7 separate regions of the Homo sapiens genome follow, and all the other regions are linked to region 1. Evidence: promoter capture Hi-C in 16 types of primary human blood cells and fetal thymus (Javierre and others, 2016). All regions are on one chromosome and are shown on one strand. Each heading gives the region's core, a stretch centred on a gene start or on the middle of the fragment in contact. The rest is flanking DNA. Distances are from core to core; before and after follow the strand shown. Region 1 holds the start of LTO1 (LTO1 maturation factor of ABCE1). Region 2 overlaps MRGPRF (MAS related GPR family member F). Region 3 has its middle 33 kb from the start of MRGPRD. Region 4 holds the start of MRPL21 (mitochondrial ribosomal protein L21). Region 5 overlaps LOC124902701 (a long non-coding RNA gene). Region 6 holds the start of CPT1A (carnitine palmitoyltransferase 1A). Region 7 overlaps TPCN2 (two pore segment channel 2).

Region 1 (2,700 bases), core at 38-2,537:
GATGGTCTGGATCTCCTGACCTCGTGATCCGCCCGCCTCGGCCTCCCAAAGTGCTGGGATTACAGGCGTCAGCCACCGCATCTGGCCCGGAATCTACTTTTCAAAGTCTCCTAGATAAGTCTGGTTTGCAGCCAGAGTTAGGGGGCCAAAGTTCTGTGAGTGTTCAAGTAGCACTAGCCCAAGTCAACCGCTTCCAAAAAACTGCAACATACACAGGGTTTGACATCACATGGGTAGGGCAACAGAGAGAAATGGCATCAGATCACCACAAAATGTTCTCCGACTGGTACCCGGAGTAGCACTGACCCTGAGGCCCAACAGTGGAACTGCCACTATCTTAACCTGCAGTCACCAAACATGCAAGGAGTGGGCTGCAGCGCCCCATGAAGCAGGGTGCATAGCTCCCCACTTAATAGTTGTGTGACCCTGGAAAGTGACTGTGCCTCCTAGTCTGTAAATTCCGAAGAATAATAGGATCCACTTACTAAGTAGGGCTGAAGTAGATAACCAGGGTGGAACGTTTAGCTCAGTGTCTGACTCACAGCGCGAGCTAAATAAACGTCAGCGCCTGACTGCTAAATGTTCGGCCGCTTTCTTAACTAACATCTATGGACGCGTCCTCTGGGCCGGGCACTGGAAGTCAGCCAGGAGGCAACTCACAGCTCCCCCACTGTCGCAGCACGAGGGGCTCCCCAGGGGCTCTGGAGGGAAAAGGGGTGTGGTCGGGTACATCTATCAGCACATCCATGAATACTGCCGTATGTCCTATGATTAAGGAACCAGAAAAAAAGGCAGCTCCCAGATGGCAAAGGTCTGTCCTCCCAGAGGACGAGGCGGCCTCGGAGGAGGGGAACCACCAGGCTGAGCAGATGTTTGGGGCAGCCCTGACAGGGAAGGCGGGTCTGGAAGAGCAGCTGGGCACGTGCCCCGCCGGAGCGGGCCAGGAGAAGAGGACCAGAGCATCAGGCCCACACTTGTCCCTGCGTCCACGGCCACCAGGCGCTCCCCAATGCGCACGCCCAAGGGACGCCAGGCTCCAGCAGCCGCCCTGGGCCGCAGCCGGCGGCGAAGCCGCTGGGAGACGACCAGACAGGGCGGGGTGCGGGCCCGGCCTCACCACCCACCTCTCATCCGCCATCACGATGGCATCGAATATGTCCTGACTGCCAGCCATAGCGGCAAGCAGCCCGCCCTTGGCCCCCGGGTTTCTGCAGCCCCGCGGTGCCGTAGCAGACCCGGCAGCTTCAGGCACAAATGCTCCGCTTGGGAGGAGACGAGACCCACTTCCGGAAGCGGCGGCGCGGGGCAGGCCGGGTAAGAACGGCACGCGGGAGGGCCCAAAGCAGCCTGTACATGGCGCATGCGCGGCTGCAGCGGTGGGCGGGGCCGGCCTCGACTGAAGCCCCGCCCTGGGGTCCTTTCGCCCTGCCCAGCTCCAGCAAAGGGCCTGTCTGTCCGCGCTGGGAGCGTCCATTGGCCGCGCGCGTGGAGAGCCGACCTGTATTTTACCACTGCAGATAGAACCGAATTTCCCAAAGTGGCTCCGAAAGAACCAAGGAAGAAATGGGAAGTCATCAGCTGGCGCGGTGGCTCACGCCTGTCATCCCAGCACTTTGGGAGGCCGAGGCGCGCGGATCACCTGAGTTCGGGAGTTCGAGACCAGCCTGGCCAACATGGTGAAACCTCGTCTTTACTGAAAATACAAAAATTAGCCGGGCATGGTGGCAGGCGCCTGTAATCCCAGCTACTCGGGAGGCTGAGGCAGGAGAATCACTGGAAGCTGGGAGGCGGAGGTTGCAGTGAGCCGAGATCGCACCACTGCACTCCAGACTGGCGACAGAGCCAGACTCCGTCAAAAAAAAAAAAAAAAAGGGAAAAGAAATGGGAAGTCATCAAAGAACCGACGCCTCAGGAGGCTCCAGGCCAGGAGGCTCTGCATGTGGGATTTTGGGCAGAAATTTGTCGGTTTTAGTTCTCATATTTGTCATTTCCATGAGATGTGCTTTCTGAACACGATTTTTAAAAAGGGATTTCAAAGTCTAAGCGACAACGGAACTCAGATGAGAAACACCAGAAGCATTCCTAATAAAGTCAGTAGTAAAACCTCACGTGACCACTGAACATCTTTCTACCAGCCCTGGCCAATGCAGTAAAACATGAAGCAAGAAGTGGAAATACCAAAAAAAAAAAAAAAAAAAAAAAAAGGCAGAAATACTACTATTTGCAGATATGATGGCCCACGTGGAAAACCCAAATAGTCACCTAAGACGTTCTCAGAATCCATAATCGCAGCAAGTAGCTATGTGTATGATGAATAGGGAAAAAAACACTTTCTGTTATTCCAACAATAATTGGTAGTAACCTGAGCAGGGGTGGTGATGGGAAAATCGCCTTATGATAGTCATAATACATTTCTTAGAAATAAGAATTTCTAACAATTTGAGCAGGACCCATATAAGGAAAACTACAGCTCTACCATGATTGAGGATTGGGGAACTGAACAAGTGCAGTACCAAAGAAAATTCCATGAGATCTGGTAAAATGTGTCAAAATCCTAAACTTTTTCATCCGTATGAATAAACTAATAAAAATAACTAAGATGTTTTAGAAAAAAATGATTTTCATATCAGATATGAAAAGATAAAGTGTCAATATAAATATTGTGGTATGTTGGTTCAAGAAGTGGCAGACCAGTGAAAT
Region 2 (2,700 bases), core at 183-2,682, 670 kb before region 1:
ACTGTGTTGGGCGTGCTGCCCCCGGCCTCCCCCAGCTCAGCGCCGTCCCGCAGGGCCCGCTGGAAGACCACCCTGAGCGGCTCCCACAGCCGCTGCGACTTGTCCCTCCCGGCCAGGAAGTAGACGATGGGCTTGGCGCTGCTGTTGATGCAGATGCACAGGTCAGTGACGTACTCGGGGAAGGGGGCCGGGATCTGGAAGACCCAGAAGAGGAACCAGTCGATCCCTAAGTAGATGGAGGACACCAGGAAGACGGAGACCATGGCCAGGATGACGTGGTTGAGCTTGGCAGAGCGCTGGCGCCGTCGGGCCCGGCACTCCACGTGCAGGATGAGGGCCAGGCAGGGCAGCACCATGAGCGGGCAGCAGAGCAGGAACAGGAGGATGCCCAGGAAGATGTCCATGTGCCTGCAGGCCGCGCCGGGGGCCCCGCGGCCCAGGAACACGCAGAAGTAGTTGTGCAGGCAGGTGACCAGGAGGGACAGGACCCACAGCAGGGCGCACACCACGGCCGACAGGCGCTTGGGCCGCCGGCGCCAGTACCAGGCGGGGAAGATGACCGAGGCGCAGCGCTCGGCGCTGACGGCCGGCAGGAGGCTCACGCCGGTAAGGAACATGCAGAGCCCCAGGACCCGGCACACGCTGCGGATGTAGTCGGCAAACGTGCCCAGGAAGCCCCCCGTGTTCAGGATGGAGAACACCGCCTTGCTGAAGAGGTAGCCCACATCGGCGCTGGCCAGGTGCAGGAAGTAGATGGAGAAGGGGTTCCTCTTGATGGAGAAGCCGAAAAACCAGAGGACCAGCCCGTTGCCCACCAGGCCACACAGGCAGAGGAGCAGGAAGATGTAGTTCATGACGGCCGGAGGCGGCAGCATCGCGATCTGCTCGATGGTCAGGAAGCCCCGGCTGTAGAGTTCCGGGGCCTCGCTCAGGCCAGGGCACATCTGCGCAGGTGCAGAGAGGGACACCTGTGATGCCGGCTGGCCCCCACCCACAGACCTGCATCTGGGGCCCAGCGTGGGGGAGGGGGGGGGTCCCAATTAGGGACTTGGGGCAGGGAGGGGGTCTGTAAGGCAGTGGCTGTGGAGCAGCTAACTGGCTGCAACTCTATCCTCAAACGCCCCTGACCTCACCTGATGTTAACTCTCCGTCCCAGCGTCTAGAGCTAGCAGCACACAATGGTGCCTATAGGAGTAGAGGTAGCACCAGACAGTGCCCAGGAAGGGTGCCAGGCTGCCCACCGGTCAGAGTAGACTGTCCAAAAAACGTCCAAGTCGCACAAAAAACTGCAGAGCCTTTCCCTTTTTTTTTTTTTTTTTTTTTGAGACAGAGTCTCACTCTGTCACCAGGCTGGAGCGTGCAGTGGCACGATCTCGGCTCACTGCAACCTCTGCCTCCCAGGTTCAAGCGATTCTCCTGCCTCAGCCTCCTGAGTAGCTGGGACTACGGGCACGCGGCACCATGCCCGGCTAATTTTTGTATTTTCAGTAGAGACGGGGCTTCGCCGTGTTGGCCAGGATGGTCTCGAACTCCTGACCTCAAGTGATCCACCTGCCTCCCAAAGTGCTGGGATTATAGACGTGAGTCACTGCGCCTGGCTGAGCCTTTCCATTTTTAAGAAGAGCAAAGAGACATGACTCCTAAACACAGTGTTAGAATCCTGGATTATACGCTGGATCTCAACAACTGCTGCAGAGGATATCGTTGGGACCACTGGGGAAATGTGAGTATGGACGATGCAGAGATAATGGCATTGCATCGGTGTTGCAGCTTTTGAATGTGACAATGTACTGTGGCTACGCACATTTTCACTATGTGGCTACGGGAACGTCCTTGTTCTTAGAAGATACAGGCTATTTGGGCATCAAGGGCTTGGTGTCTGCAATTTACTTTTGTTTGTTTGTTTGTTTTTGAGACAGAGTCTTGCTTTGTCAGGCTAGAGTGCAGTGGCCCGATCTTGGCTCACTACAGCCTCCGCCTCCCAGGTTCAAGCAATTCTCCTGCCTCAGGCTCCCGAGTAGCTGGGACTACAGGCACGCACCGCCATGCCTGACTAATTTTTGTATTTTTAGTAGAGATGGGGTTTCACCATGTTGGCCGGACTGGTCTCGATCTCTTGACCTCAGGTGATCCGCCCATCTTGGCCTCCCAAAGTGCTGGGATTAGAGGCGTGAGCCACCGCACCCAGCCTTGCAATTTACTTTCAAATCATTCTGGGAAAAAAAGCCTATCTGTCAAGAGATAGAGAGAAAGCACTTGTGGTGAAGGGTTAACGATGACTGAGCTGAGGTGAGGTATTGGCGGGCATTGTACTATTCTTGCAAAATCTTGCAATGTTTCAACAAACACGAAACTATTTGAAGAAATAAAATCACTTGTAAGTTACATTTAAAAAAAAACAACGAGTGGATCTCGGCCTTCCCCGGAGCTGGACCCTGTCCTCTAGTGGGATGGGAGGTGGCTTCCTGATGAGCCAGGGTTGCCCCTGGGGTTTCCAGATTGTGGGAAAGTCCAGGGGGTCCCTGGGGTGGAGGAGAGGCAGCAGCTATTTATCAAGCTGCAGGGAAGCATTTCAATACTTTAACTGTTGGTGTGGCTGTAAGAGTGCATCCCAGCTGAGTATCGGTCCTGCCCTCAGGGTCTAGGCTTGTGTATAAATGCATGCAGGTGGGCCAGGTGCAAGGAACAGGTGAGAGGGAG
Region 3 (2,700 bases), core at 180-2,679, 730 kb before region 1:
CAAATACCACTCACATTTCTCCTGGGATGTTTAGTAGGCAGGTGAGTGCAGCGCCTCCAGAATCCAGTGCCTGGTCTGCCCCGGGGAGTGGACTGAGCGCTTCCCTCCCCACAGGTAAATCCATATGCTAATCCCCAAACCTGCGAATGTGACCTTATCTGGGAAAAGAGTCTTCGCAGATGTAATTAAGTAAAGGTTCTTGAGAGGAGATCATCCCGGGTTACCTGGATGGTCCCTAAATCCAATGACAGGTGTCCGTCTAAGAGACATGTGAGAAGAGAAGGAGGCTGCCTGCAAACACAGGCAGAGGCTGGCGTGGTGCAGCCACAGGCCAAGGAACGTGGAGCCCCCAGAAGCTGGAAGTGGCAGGACAGGGCCGCCCCTCGAGATTTTATCTTGAAGAGAGAGAATCAGTTTCTGGGTTTGTTGTTGTTGCTGTTTTTTGAGATGGAGTTTTGCTCTTGTTGCCCAGGCTGGAGTGCAGTGTCGCAATCTCAGCTCACTGCAACCTCCGCCTCCTGGGTTCAAGCGATTCTCCTGCCTCAGCCTCCCGAGTAGCTGGAATTACACCTGGAATGACAGGTGCCCGCCACCACACCCAGCTAATGTTTTTATACTTTTAGTAGAGACAGGTTTTTGCCATGTGGCCAGGCTAATTTCGAACTCCTGACCTCAAGTGATCCACCCGCCTCGGCCTCCCAAACTGCTAGGATTACAGGCGTGAGCCACCGCACCAGGCCGTCGCTGCTTTTGAGTCAGGGTCTCAGTGTGTGACCCAGGCTGGAGTGCACTGGTGCGATTATAGCTCACTGAAGCTTCAGCCTCCAGGGTTCAAGTGATCCACCTGCCTCAGCCTTCCAAAGGGCTGGGATTACAGGCGTGCGCCACTGCCTCTGGCCTTCTTACATCTTTTTTCCTGTTTTCTATCTCTCCATCTCTTCCTTTTTTAAACAATGAGATGTTCCTCAGCCTTATTTTCCAACCATTTTATTTTTGTTTAGGTTTTAAAAATTCACACCATTTTCCTTTCAGCATCGAAGAGCCCTTCCCTCATGTCCCTTTTTGCAGTGCTCTCCCTGTGGGGCTGCGTCTTCTCTTTTCTGTCTGTGGGTGTGGTTTTGTATTGTTTGCTGCTTTCTTTTTCCTGCAGTGTTTCGATTACAAATGGCTTCCGTCTGCCTTTCGCATCGTGGCTTTCTGCAGATTCTGGTAGTTGTCCCCTCCTATCAGCCAGGGACTGACTCTCCAAGACCGTGCGGAGGGCTCGCTGACTGTGGGCTTCACTGAGGCATCAGCTGCCCGGCCGTTGAGCCAGGGACCAGAAGTCTTTCCCCCTGGATGTGCCAGGTTGCAATCACAGTCTCTGTTCATACACCTGCTTACTCACCCTCCACTCAGTACGGGGTTCCCCCGCCCAGCTATGCCTTGGGACCCTCAGGCAGACTCATTCTGTTTTACCCACTGCAGAGCCTAGTCGGGTATTTGGTCTTTTCTCAGAGTAGAGGAGGAGGCTTCTCTGAGTAGCAGATGGGATTAGAAGATCTGATTGCTGCTGCTTTCATAAAAATTGTAAAATATCTATAACATGAAATTTAACATTTTAACCATTGTGTAAGCAAGTGTACAACTCAGCGGCATCCCTTACATTCCCAGCATTGTGCAACCATCACCACCATCTGTCTCCAGAACTTTCTCATCTTCCCACATGGAAACTCCATCCCCATCAAATACCAACCCCCCAGCCCCTGGAATCTCTGTTCATTTTCTGTCTCCATGACTGATTGCTTCTTTTAAAGACTTCCATCCACCCGCCTTATTTTAGCTCCTTCCCACCCCACTTCTTGGGCTCCCAAGGCCCCCAGTTCCTGAGCCTTTAGGTGATTCTGTGGCATCAATTTATTTAGTGGCCTTATGTAGATGTGTGTGTTCAATCCGCTAACTTTACATGGATGTTTCTCTAGATCAGGGGGTCCCAGGGGTACGGGTCCATGACCTGTTAGGAACTGGGCCTCACAGCAGGAGGTGAGTGGTGGGTGCACCCGTGAAGCTTCATCTGTATTTACAGCCACTCCTCACTGCTCGCGTCACCGCCCGAGCTCCGCCTCCCGTCAGATCAGCGGCGGCGTTAGATTCTCATAGGAGCGCGAACCCTATTGTGAACTGCGCATGCGAGGGATCCAGGCTGCGTGCTCCTTTATGAGACTCTGATGCCTGATGATCTGTCACTGTCTCCCATCACCCTAAGATGGGACTGTCTAGTTGCAGGGAAAGAAGCTCAGGGCTCCCACTGATTCTACATTATGGTGAATTGTAGAATTATTTTATTATATATTACAATGTCAATAATAGAAATAAAGTGTGCAATAAATGTCATGCGCTTGGGTCATCCTGAAATCATTCCCCCTGCCGCCCCACGGCCTGGCCCATGGAGAAATTATCTTCCACGAAACCGGTCTCTGGTGCCAAAAAGGCTGGAGACTGTTGCTCTATAATATTTAAGTTATCTTTTGCAGAGACTTTGTTTTTTGAGACAGGGTCTTGCTCTGTTGGCCAGGCTGGAGTGCAGTGGCACAATCACGGTTCATTGTAGCCTCGACCTCCTGGGCTCCAGAGATCCTCCCACCTCAGCTTCCTGAGTAGCTGGGACTACAGACACATGCCACCATGCCCAGATAATTTTTTAAAAAAATTTTTAGTAGA
Region 4 (2,700 bases), core at 91-2,590, 770 kb before region 1:
ACTTTATTTTTTAGCACAGTTTTAGTTTCACACCAAAATTGAGTGGAAGGTACAGAGAGTTCCCATATGTCCCCTGTCCATGTGCCCACAGCTTCCTATCAACATCCCTCACCAGAGTGGTACAATCTTTACAATTGATGAACCTACATTGACACATCATTGTTATCCAAAGTCCATAGTCTACATTAGGGGTTCACCCTTGGTAGTGTACATTCTATGGATTTGGACAAACTTATAATGACATGTATCTACCATTATATCATACAGAATAGTTTCACTGCCCTAAAAATCCTCTGAGCTCCACCTATTTATCCTTTTCTCCCCCAATCCTCTTACCCCCCATGTAACTTTTTACTGTCTCCTTAGATTTGCCTTTTCCAGAATGTCATAGTGGGAAACATACAAGATGTCCCCTTTTCAGGTTGGCTTCTTTTACTTAGTAACATGTATGTAAGTTTCCTCCATGTCTCTTCATGACTCATTTCTTTTTATTGCTGCATAATATTCTACTGTATGGATGTCCTACAGTTTATGTAACCATTCATCTCCTGAAGGACATCTGGGTTGCTTCCAAGTTTTGGGAATTATGGTACTATTCTTTTAATATCGTCCAATATAGAGTTAGATCCAGTTTTCCATTTTTGGGGGTCATGGTGAGACATGAAACCCAGGTTTAAAACATACATAAACACTCATGCACACAAATACACACTCCAACCATTTTCAAGCAGAGATTTATAGAGTTTTTAACGGACATAACCTTTTTGGAGCCTCGTATCAGCCCAGCGCCTTAAATACGGCTGTTTCTTTTGCAGAATGAGTTCAGATTAGGCGAGGATATCCATCACCATTTTTCAGACCAGCTCGCAGCCTGGGGGCAGTGGTTCAAGCACAGGCTTTGGAGCCGAAATGACTGCGCCTGAAGTACTCTTCTTCCACTTCCCCGCTGTGTGACCCTGGGCACGTTACCTAGCTCCTCTGAGCCTCACTCTTCTCCCCCATAACATAGGGCCTATACCAAAGTTCAAGGGCTATTGTCAGTATTCAGGCTACTAACTGAAGGAATCAAAATCTGAACCTGGGTTCCCCCGACTCCAAAACCCGTGCTATATTCACCACAAATGCGATCAACACACAAGGCACCAGGTCGGACCCAGGCACATACGTGGCGAGACCGCAGGGAGCAGCGCTCGCTCTGCGTCCTCCCTTCCTCCCATATCCCAGGTCTCACCTGCTCCGGGCCCCGAAGGTCTCAGGATGCTGTGGCTGCACGCGGACGCCAGCCGCCCTAAGGTGACCGTCAGGGAAGATGCTGCCATGGCCGCAGCCTCGGCCGGAAACGGAAACGACGCGAACCGCGTGCGTAACGCACGGGCCCGGCGGGGAACACCGGTCCGCTGTAACACCGGCCCGGCGCAGAAGCGGGACGTCGGCTTCTAGGGGCCCAGGCCGGCGGCGGCGATGGCCTCGGCAGCTGTGGAGAGCTTCGTGACCAAGCAACTGGACCTGCTGGAGCTTGAGAGAGACGCGGAGGTGGAGGAGCGCAGGTACGGGAGGCCGCCGGCGCCGCTCCCTCGCGGTCGGTCCCGCCGTGTCCCGGGCAGAGTCTCCGAGGGGCTCGGCCTCATAGTCTGGGGCGGGAATTTCGTCTCCGACCCTTCGAGTCAGGGGCAGGGATCGTCCGTCCCCTGCTTGGCCACCTCCCGAGTTGTCAGTCTCATCACTTCCTGGGCAGCGCGTTCCGTTTGGGGACCCTTAAGAAGCACTTTGATTTCCCGACCCGAGACCCCCCACTAAGCTTACACTCCTGGGCCCTGGCCCCGACCCCAGTTCCACCCGCAGCGAGTTAGCAGCCCTTTCCCTTATTCATTCAGTAAACATGGTTTGCGCCCATTCTCAGTCAGGCCCCGGCAGCATGAGTCAGGTGCACTGGCTGCCCCCGATCCGGCCAGCGGCGGGCTGGGCATAAGCAGAGAGTCCCTTCCCCTCCAGTGCGTCCAGGGCCGGCTGCGTGCGTGTCGCGGGGAAAGAGCCTGGAGGAGGAAGGCCCTTCCCTGGGGAGGGTCATGGTGGCTTCAAGGAGGGAGTGGTGCCTGAAGGAAAATTGGAGTTAAGCTGGTGGGTGCGGAGTAGGGTGGGGAGCCGTCCTGAGAGGTGTGGGGAGCCATGTGAGAGCCGGGCTTGTTTCCGAATGGGACTATTTACTTGTCCAAAACAATCAGAGCTAACACTTACGTACTTTCCATGCGTTAATTCTTTTACACCTCATCCCATGCCAACCCTACAGTGTAAGTTTCTTTTTTTTCTTTTTCTTTTTTTTTTTTTTAGACAGAGTCTCTCTCTGTCGCCCAGGCTGGAGTGCAGTGGCACGATCTCGGCTTACTGCAGCTTCCATCTCCCGGGTTCAAGCGATTCTCCTGCCTCAGCCTCCTGAGTGGCTGGGACTACAGGCGCGCCACCACGTCCTGCTAATTTTTTGTATTTTTAGTAGAGACAGGGTTTCACCATGTTGGCCAGGATGGTCTCGATCTCCTGACCTCGTGGTCTGCCCGCCTTGGCCTCCCAAAGTGTTGGGATTACAGGCGTGAGCCACCGTGCCCGGCCGCAGTGTAGGTTTCTGTTACTGTCATTTTCCGTCTAAGGAGATGGAGACAGAGAGGGGTTAAGTAACTTGCCCCGGGGTGACACAGTGTAGCCCGA
Region 5 (2,700 bases), core at 22-2,521, 640 kb before region 1:
GCCTTTGTCTCTAAAAAACTGTTTTTAGAGACAGAGTCTCACCCTGCCGCGCGGCTGGAGCTGCCATGCCATCACAGCTCACCTCAGCCTCAAACCTCGGGTGCTCCTTGTGTGTGGTTGTCGGGGGAGGGTCTGAGCTCGGCACTGCCTCCTTGCAGGGGTGCATGGTGCCACCTGCAGCACGTTTGCACTCCCCGACCCAGGACAGACTGGTGGTGCCCCCTTGCCGGCCCCTGCGCCCCTCCACGCAGGGAGATCTGTGCCCTAGGAACAGCTCCCAGCCATGGCCAGGGACCACCGGGAGTGGGGAGAACAGCCTGCTTTCCCACCTCCCCGATACCTCTGAGGCTTGTTCTATGTGGTCTCCCAGAGGTCTCCACGGGGCCTAGCCCCGCTGCCACTGCTGAAAACTTGCCTTATTTGGCTTCTCCCCTCCCCTGCGCCCCTTCCCTCTTTCCCTCCCACCCTTCCCAGGCTCTCCACCAAAACACACTACTTGTGCTCAAATCCTTGTCTCAGCGGGAGCGTCCAGGGCCCTGGCCTAAGAGCTGGCAAGACCCCAGCTTCCACCCCGCTGGCTGTCCTCCCAGCTAGGCCTGACTGGCCCCTGCTTCTCCTGGGGCTTCACCCCCAGTGCCCCTCCCAGCCTTTTCCCCTCTCTGTACCCCCAACCCCCTCTCCCGGGGCTTCACCCCAGGGGCCCCTCCCAGCCTTCTCCCCTCTCTGCACCCCCGACCCCTCTCCCAGGGCTTCATCCCAGGGGCCCCTCCCAGACTTCTCCCCTCTCTGTACCCCCAACCCCACAGGCCTCTGGGCTCGGACTTCAGCCCTCACTTTCCCGACGCCACCCTAGTGACTCTCGTCCCCCACCGGCCCCTTCCTTGGCTGCCACCACAAGCCATTTGGTTCACAACATAGCAAATGGCCTGGGTCTCCCCGAATTCCTGTTGCTTGTGTCATATGCAAGAGAACTCAAAATAGCACGTGCAGCCTGCCCTGGCCTGGGAAGTATCTGGTTTTCCCAGGGGTTGGTCCCCAGGGCAGGACAAGGGGGTTTGCTCACCAACACCCCATTTTTGGGCCCTGTGCCCAGCTCACACGCTCTCCTTCCCCTCCAGGGCCAGGCTTGGCTTTCACTGTGCCCCTCGCTCACTGTGTGACCTCAGACAACGCACACAGCCTCTCTGAGTCTTCATTTCCCAGCGTGCAACACAGGGATAATTCCTGGGCTGCTCTGGGCAGTAGTTTCAAGGTTGAAGTGTGACAAGGGATGGGAGAATAGCTCATGAGTTTTTTTTGTTTTTTTTGTTTTTTTTTTTTGAGACAAGTTCTCTCTCTGTCACCCAGGCTGGAGTGCAGTGATGGGATCATAGCTCGCTGCAGCCTCGACCTCCCCGGCCAAAGCGATCCTCCCACTTCAGCCTCCCGAGTAGCTGGGACTACAGGCATGTGTCATCACACCCAGCTAATTTTTAAAATTTTTTATAGCGATGGGGTCTCCCTATGTTGCCCAGGCTGGGTTTGAACTCCTGGGCCCAAGTGCTCCTCCTGCCTTGGCCTCCCAAGGGATTGGAGAATACCTGGTGATTTTAAAACAGCATTTTTTTTTTTCTCCCAGAGAATGGGCATGAAGGGAAGGGGGTGGGAGGGCAGAAACCTGGCCTGGGGCCCTACCGCATGTCCCTTCTGTCTGCAAACCTGGGCCCTCACCATCATTATCCCCATTCTACAGATACAGAAACCGAGGCTCAGTGAGATCCTGGGGTTGCCAGAGCTCATGGGGCTGGCGGTGGGTGGGTCAGGGCACAGGCTTTGCTCACATGACCATGAGGCTGACGGTTTTTGCTTTCTTCCACGTGATCTTAGCAATCATCAGAGACTGTTACAATGAGCACGTTTGGTGTTATTCATTAGTGCCTAGGACAGTTCATGATATGTAGTAGGTGCTCAGTAGATGCGTGGGTGAATGAATGAATGAATGAATGAATAAAACCACAGAGCTCCCCTTAGAAAGACCGATACGGATACATGACCCCTGTGGATGCAGCTAAACAGAGGAAACCCAGCTGCACGTGGGCAGTCGGCCTGACGCACCCGGAGCCGGGGAAGTAAATATGGCCAAGAAGCACCTGGAGCAGGTCCCGGGTGCTCAACCGCAGACGGCCAGTCTCCAGGCTGCGGGGACGCTCGGGTCCTTCTTGGGAGGTTCCTGCAGGGGAGCGGAGCTCCTGCCTCCCCAGGCATTCTCCGTCTTGGGAGACATTGATTTCAGTGCAGTGCTGGTGCCTCCAACTCATTGCTGGACCTCACAGAAGCCCCGGCAGCCTCCCCGGAAGACATCATTTCTTCCTCCTATAAAATAAAGGGGGAGAGATGATGGGCACTTTGGCCAAAGTAACACAACTGGGGCAGTTTTTGGAAACCCAGGGAGGTATTTCTGATATTCAAACCAAGTTAGGTGCAACCTCTGAGTGCCTTGGGAGAAAAAGCTCCCAGTCGATGGCACCAGCCCTCGGCCTTGGCAGGACATAAGGGACCCTCAGGCTGAGCCAACATCACTGTCCCCACCAAGAATAAGTCTTTCTCCACTGCTGGTTCCAAAAGACATGCGTGACGGGCAACAAAAGCCACATTGGAGAGTGCAGCTGTGCTGTGAGGGTCGTTCTTGGTTCATTTATGGGGTAGCGGGGCGGGGGGAAG
Region 6 (2,700 bases), core at 105-2,604, 830 kb before region 1:
AAAGCCTGTGCCGAGTTGGGAATATTAACTTTGTTATGTATTTAACCTGGTAGGTAGTTGGGATTTTTAACTCTCTGAGTTGTTTTCTTTTTTTAAAGTAAGATCGGCCCTCATCTTTGAGTTCTGCGGCTTTAACGAAAGCCAAGGGCGGATTTACATTATAAAGACGCTGACCCATGGCCTCTCCTGACAAACCGAAAGAAGCCGGCTGTTGGCTGGCCGCGGCGGTGGCTCCGAGAAGGGGCTGCCCCGCGTGGCCCTGACCGCACCGTCGGGCTCGCAGGCCAAGTTCGCCAGGGCACGGCCACGTGACACCCCCACCCTCCCGCGGCCCCGCCGCTCCCAGCCCGGCACGACCTTGGGCACATGCTCCGCGCCCACCCGCCCTTGACCCAGCGCTGCACGGGAGAGGCTGCGGGGCGCTCCCAAGCAGGCACTGGGCCCGGCACCCTCATCCTGCTCACGGCAGCGCTCGGACCGCGCCTGGAGTCCCTGCGCCAAGGGCGTGTCCCGACGGCTGCACCGCGAGGGCGGGCATGGGGAGGGGGACCGGGGAGACGGACGCTGGGATGGGGTCAGCGGCGCCCTGCCGAATCCCGAGGGCCGAGCACCCCTCCCTCAGCCGCACTGCACCTGCCCGTAGGTGACCAACCCACGGGCGGACCCCCAGACCCAATCCTCTCCAGAGCCAGGGTGGGATGGGCAGGGACAGGAGCCGGAGGCCCTACTGGCCCCGGGCGAAGGCATCCTGGAAAGCATCCAGAGCGTCCAGCATCCCTCCCGCGGCCACCCGCAGGCTGACCGACCCCTGGGCAGACCCTCAGACTCAATCCAGTCCAGGGCGGATTAAGGAGTGGGAGACAAGGGAGCCGGTGGCCCCGCTGGCCCCGGGCCGGAGGCGTCCAGCCAAGTCCGGAGGGCCGAGCATCCCTCCCGCGGCCGCACGGGACCCGCCTGCGGATGGACCGACCCCCGGTGGACCCTCAGACCCAATCCCCTGGGGAACATGGGGAGCCCCGGCCTCTTTCTGGGTTCAGGATCTCCACAACCCCGCCGTCCGGGGGGAATACCGGGGTTCCTCTCGGCGCCCCGGTTCCGGCGGCGTCCCCCACCCGGTCCGGTTCCCGGCAGCCCCGCGCCCCGCCCGTCCCCGGCCCCCGCAGCCCGCAGGGCCGCCCCGCCACCCTCCCCACCGCGGGCGACCGGGCCTCACCGAGTCAGCTACGGAGGTGCGGCAGCGGCAGCGGCAGCGGCGGCGGCGGCGGCGGCGGTGGAGTGAACGAGCGGCGAGCGGGAGCCGGGGAAGGAGGGCCGCGGGCGAGGCCGAGCGCACCCGACGCCGGCAGCAGCGGATTGGCTGAGGCGGGTCCGGCTGCGGCGCCTGCAGGCGGGTGACTCCCGGCGCGCGGAGGGCGGGCCCGGGGCCTCGGCGGGGCGGGGCGTCCGCGGGGCTAGGAGGGGAGGGAAACTGAGGCTCGAGCGGGTGCTCGCGTCCTCGACCTCTGCCGGAATGGGGTCTAGGACGAGATTCCTCACCCTCCGAGCCTCAGTTTCCTCATCCGTAAAACGAGCCATCTCGTGGAGGCCGTGCGCATAAAATCGCTTAGCTCCGTGCCTGGCTGATCCTCGCGACTTATCTATCGGCATTGCCCCGTGTAATGCTCCAGGCACCCCCTGATGGTATTCACCCCTGACTCTTTCATGCAGACAAGGGTCGCGGGCCAGGAAATAAGTTACCCCACATCACCGAGCTGAGAAGCAACCGATCCACAGGGAGTGGTGGGGCGCGCCTGTAATCCCAGCTACTCGGGAGGCGGGAAGTCGCTTGAAGCCAGGAGTTCGAGGCCAGCCTGGGCAACGTAGCGAGACCCCGTCTCTAAAAAAAAAAGCGCGGGGAAGTGATAGATCGGACATTGGGTCCAGATCTGATTCCACAGCCCATGCCCCAAATCAGACCTTATACCACGAGTGGCAGTCATCGCGATCCAGAGGCAGCGTGGCTCCTCCTCATCTAGCTAGGATAAAAATGCCTCACTTGGGGGGCTTTGGTGAGATTTACTAAAATAATTCTTCCAGCGTCAAGAACATAATAGGTGCTGGGAGAGGAGTAGCTGGAGGCCAGGGCAGAGCGACCGAGAGACCCTTGTGCTGGAGCTCGGGAGAGGGGCCGGGAGCGGGAACTGAACATCCACCGGTCCCAGGAGTCTAGGGCGAGCGCAGCTGCAGGGGACCCAGGGGGTTGAGGGGGAGGGAGAGGGGCCCCAAGCGTAACAGGAGGGCCAAGGGGGTCTTCCTGACCGGGAGCCACCCCTCCCCTATCTTTGCCCGCAATGCTTCCAGGCGCGAGCTGGCGGCTCTGCATACAGCAGGTGCTCCATAAATGCACCGATGTTATGAACAAAGACTCTTTTAAACCTCTTTTATGAACCCTGCTCTTTTTAAGTTCGACCACTTCTTCTAGTTATGAAAAAATCCATGTTTGCAACCATCCTTCTTTCTGTATCATTTAGTTGTTACCGCAGAAGAATTTAGAAGAGAAAATGAAAGTTCTCCTTTGATCCCGCCCCCCACCACCGCTGCAGTTAACTCTCCCTGCGGTTCCCGGGCTCGCTGTTTTAAAGGAAGGCTAGGATGCAAGCTGTCTGTAAGGCTGTTTTGTTTTCACTTGGCTTACGTCGTAGACAGGTCTCTGCTGGGGGA
Region 7 (2,700 bases), core at 114-2,613, 620 kb before region 1:
CTCTGCCTGGGGACCAGCACCTCCTGAGGCCTCTGCTGCTGCCTCCCATGTCACCACATTGTCTTGGTGCAGCTGTGGGCCCCAAGGGGCCAGGTGTGAAAGCCGAGTCTCAACTGAAAAAGCAGCTGCTTCACCCTCTCCCCGTGCTGGGAAGTGTCAGCCTCTCCGGGCTCCTCAGTTGCTTCGGGTTGAGTTTTCCTTCCCTGTTGGCCTGCTGGGGAGCAGCTCTGCAGCGAGGCCAGAGGTGGCCCGTGCCTACGATGCGGGTGGGTGGCCCAGGCTCCCTGCAGTGGCTCAGTGGCTGACCAGGTGCGCCCGCTGGCTGCTCTGTGGCAGGTGAGGGGCTTGTGAGCAGGCCAGGGTGCTGGGTCCTGGCTTCTGTGCCGCCTGACTTTTCCTGAAGGCCCCTCCTAGTCAGGAGCCACTGCCGCTTTTGCCCAGGCCTGCCGGGAGGCTCCACCCTGCTTGTGCTGTTGGTAAAGGCGGGCGGCCACCCTTCACCACAGAAGGCACCGGCAGAGGCTGGGGGACTCGGGCGTTCCTGCAGCTCTGACCCTGGGAGTGATTTGGGTGGGCTTGCCTGGGCCCATGGACCGGGACAGTGAGGGAATGGGACCTTGGTAGCACTCATGAAGCCTCATGGCAGTGCCTTTGGGTTCTAGATGCCAGTTCTCCCTGTCACTGTTGAATCCGAGGTCTGGTTTGATGGGGGTGGGTGGGACACTGGGTACAGTGTCCTGGCTCATGAAGACTGTGCAGGAGCCAGGTAGGGCCGAGCGGAAGAGGGGTGACAGCAGCCCCATGTACCGAGCATGCCTGGGGAGCGTGGCAGGGGGCTCTTGTGCTCCTGCGTTGCACCTCACAGTACCCTCTGGGGAGCCGATTGGGTGGCTGTAAATAGCCCCACTTGACAGAGGAGGAGCCAGCCACAGCCTTCCTGCCAGCACGTGGAGGAGCCGGGCTCTGAACCCCGACGCTGGTGCCAGGGCCCTGCAGGATGTGCCGCTTCCCACAGGCTTGCTAGTTGTGTGCGCTGCATGCGGAGGTGCCGTGCCCTGGGCCTGGCCTGTGCATTTGATGCCGAGGCACTTACCTGGTTTGGTCCCTGCCCTGGGCAGGTACATGCAGCCCCACTGCCGGGTGGAGTCATCTCTTTACAAACGGCCTTGGGAAGAACCACAGCCGGCATCTTTCCTTGATCACGGGTATCCTGGAGGGTGAGGCCATGTCATCCTGCTCGGTCACCTGATGTGTCCCCTCTGCCTGCAGGTGCCGCGGCCAGGTGGGACCTCTGCATTGATCAGGCTGTGGTCTTCATCGAAGATGCTATTCAGGTCGGTGGCACCTGCTCCCTGTGGCCGGGCCTGGGGGGTGGCCGCCCTCCGATTGGCTCGCCCCTCCAGGGGCGACTGACTGGGTCCAAGGCCTCCATTGCTGGACTGTAGGTTAAGAGAACTGAGGGTGGAGCCTCTGGGCACGGCTCTTCGTCAGTCCCCGGAGGACTTGTCTTCTGCATCCTGGACGCATTTGCTGCTTTGATGCACCGTGTTCTGAGGCCTGTTGTGGACCACCCCATTCTAGGTCCCGGGTGGGTGGGGGCATCCTGGAGGATGACACAGCTGCACGGGGCGTGGGAGGGTCAGCCTTGCACAGAGAAGAGAGAGCCTCGCAGGCAGACACGGGCACAGCTGTGCTCTCAGCAAGTGTTCCCTGAGTGTTTGCTCACGCACCCACCCACCCCGGGTGTGTGGCCTGTGAGGTCTTGTGTGTTGGGCAAACCTCGTGGTTTGTGATGGTGTGGGCCTGATGGGTCAGGGCTGGCCATGTCCACACGCTGAAGCGTCCCCTGTGATCCACAGCCTGAGACTTGGGCCTGTCTCGTGTGTGGTGTGGGGCTCGGGTCACGGCCCACCCTGCATGCACCCATGTCATGCCTCATGTGACTTTTCGCTTGTAGTACCGCTCCATCAACCACCGGGTGGATGCCAGCTCGATGTGGCTTTACCGACGGTATTACTCGAACGTATGCCAACGGTGAGAACGCACCCATGTGGAACTCAGGGTTCCTGCCGGCTTGCGTGGCAGGGGAGGCTGGCCCCCACCTGGGGATCACCTGGTCTCAGGGTCCAGGCAGGCTCCCCACTACATAGATAGGGCGGTTACCATCATCCTCTCTGGAAAGGAGACGGCCTGTGATGGCAGGCTCCTTCTACAACAAGGGTTCCTTTCTGGAATGCTGTGGTCAGCCCTCGGCAATGGAGCTTTGAGCAGATTCGTGATCTCCCCAGTCACGAGTGTCCACGCTCAGGCAGCGCCAACTCCCGTGCTTCGGACTGGGGAAGCTCCTGACCAGCCTCTGGGCCCTGAGGGCTGCTGGCTCCTGTGTTTTCATGTTTCTGTCCCCTTTCCAGGACTTTGAGCTTCACCATCTTCTTGATCCTGTTTTTGGCTTTTATCGAGACCCCATCCTCACTCACCAGCACGGCGGACGTGCGCTACCGCGCTGCTCCCTGGGAGCCGCCCTGCGGCCTGACCGAGAGTGTCGAGGTGCTCTGCCTGCTGGTCTTTGCGGCCGACCTCTCTGTGAAGGTGAGGCGGGCGCCAGGCCCTCTACGTGCTGCCCCGGCCTCCCAGCGCCTGGCCGCTGCTCTCCTGGTTTATTGCTGATTCTCTGGAGTGAGCTGCCTTTTCCCCAGACTT

Evidence for each region. The method cuts DNA at HindIII sites, captures the fragments that hold promoters and counts their contacts. A CHiCAGO score of 5 or more calls a contact.
Region 2: a fragment that was not itself captured here is called in contact with the fragment with the promoter of LTO1 in region 1 in 1 of 17 cell types (monocytes); the score reaches 7.2 in monocytes.
Region 3: a fragment that was not itself captured here is called in contact with the fragment with the promoter of LTO1 in region 1 in 4 of 17 cell types (erythroblasts, megakaryocytes, M1 macrophages and 1 more); the score reaches 6.8 in erythroblasts.
Region 4: a contact is called between the fragment with the promoter of MRPL21 here and the fragment with the promoter of LTO1 in region 1, in 8 of 17 cell types (total B cells, naive B cells, M2 macrophages and 5 more). The highest score is 8.4, in total B cells.
Region 5: a fragment that was not itself captured here is called in contact with the fragment with the promoter of LTO1 in region 1 in 1 of 17 cell types (monocytes); the score reaches 5.8 in monocytes.
Region 6: the fragment with the promoter of CPT1A here is called in contact with the fragment with the promoter of LTO1 in region 1 in 16 of 17 cell types (monocytes, total B cells, erythroblasts and 13 more); the score reaches 14.0 in monocytes.
Region 7: a fragment that was not itself captured here is called in contact with the fragment with the promoter of LTO1 in region 1 in 14 of 17 cell types (naive CD8 T cells, activated CD4 T cells, naive CD4 T cells and 11 more); the score reaches 11.9 in naive CD8 T cells.

The regions. Positions count from the first base shown.
Region 1 is chr11:69,674,066-69,676,765 of GRCh38, forward strand. LTO1 (LTO1 maturation factor of ABCE1) reads right to left here and starts at 1,288. Exons shown (of 5, transcript NM_153451.3): 1 at 1,125-1,288. The coding sequence starts at 1,174. RefSeq lists a silencer at 870-959 and enhancers at 1,080-1,580, 1,450-1,649. The HindIII fragment of the contact is 5,284 bases long and covers 1-2,700 here.
Region 2 is chr11:69,005,318-69,008,017 of GRCh38, forward strand. MRGPRF (MAS related GPR family member F) reads right to left here. Exons shown (of 3, transcript NM_145015.5): 3 at 1-944. Among named protein-coding and RNA genes, the nearest start is that of MRGPRF-AS1, 5.7 kb to the right of the region's middle. RefSeq lists an enhancer at 2,302-2,700. The HindIII fragment of the contact is 8,290 bases long and covers 1-2,700 here.
Region 3 is chr11:68,947,017-68,949,716 of GRCh38, forward strand. No RefSeq gene overlaps it. Among named protein-coding and RNA genes, the nearest start is that of MRGPRD, 33 kb to the right of the region's middle. RefSeq lists an enhancer at 1-483. The HindIII fragment of the contact is 1,232 bases long and covers 814-2,045 here.
Region 4 is chr11:68,902,492-68,905,191 of GRCh38, forward strand. MRPL21 (mitochondrial ribosomal protein L21) reads right to left here and starts at 1,341. Exons shown (of 7, transcript NM_181514.2): 1 at 1,232-1,341. The coding sequence starts at 1,319. IGHMBP2 (immunoglobulin mu DNA binding protein 2) reads left to right here and starts at 1,400. Exons shown (of 15, transcript NM_002180.3): 1 at 1,400-1,547. The coding sequence starts at 1,462. RefSeq lists enhancers at 1,214-1,941, 1,373-1,492, 1,823-1,882. The HindIII fragment of the contact is 5,018 bases long and covers 1-1,796 here.
Region 5 is chr11:69,035,134-69,037,833 of GRCh38, forward strand. It overlaps LOC124902701 (a long non-coding RNA gene), which reads right to left. Exons shown (of 2, transcript XR_007062753.1): 2 at 1,883-2,352. Among named protein-coding and RNA genes, the nearest start is that of TPCN2, 12 kb to the right of the region's middle. The HindIII fragment of the contact is 8,914 bases long and covers 1-2,700 here.
Region 6 is chr11:68,840,562-68,843,261 of GRCh38, forward strand. CPT1A (carnitine palmitoyltransferase 1A) reads right to left here and starts at 1,355. Exons shown (of 19, transcript NM_001876.4): 1 at 1,214-1,355. RefSeq lists silencers at 194-473, 524-623, 884-963, 1,174-1,223, 1,244-1,603 and an enhancer at 1,749-2,274. The HindIII fragment of the contact is 25,295 bases long and covers 1-2,700 here.
Region 7 is chr11:69,052,764-69,055,463 of GRCh38, forward strand. It overlaps TPCN2 (two pore segment channel 2), which reads left to right. Exons shown (of 25, transcript NM_139075.4): 2 at 1,270-1,334; 3 at 1,958-2,034; 4 at 2,412-2,589. Among named protein-coding and RNA genes, the nearest start is that of TPCN2, 5.2 kb to the left of the region's middle. RefSeq lists enhancers at 298-871, 1,546-1,675. The HindIII fragment of the contact is 3,802 bases long and covers 1-2,700 here.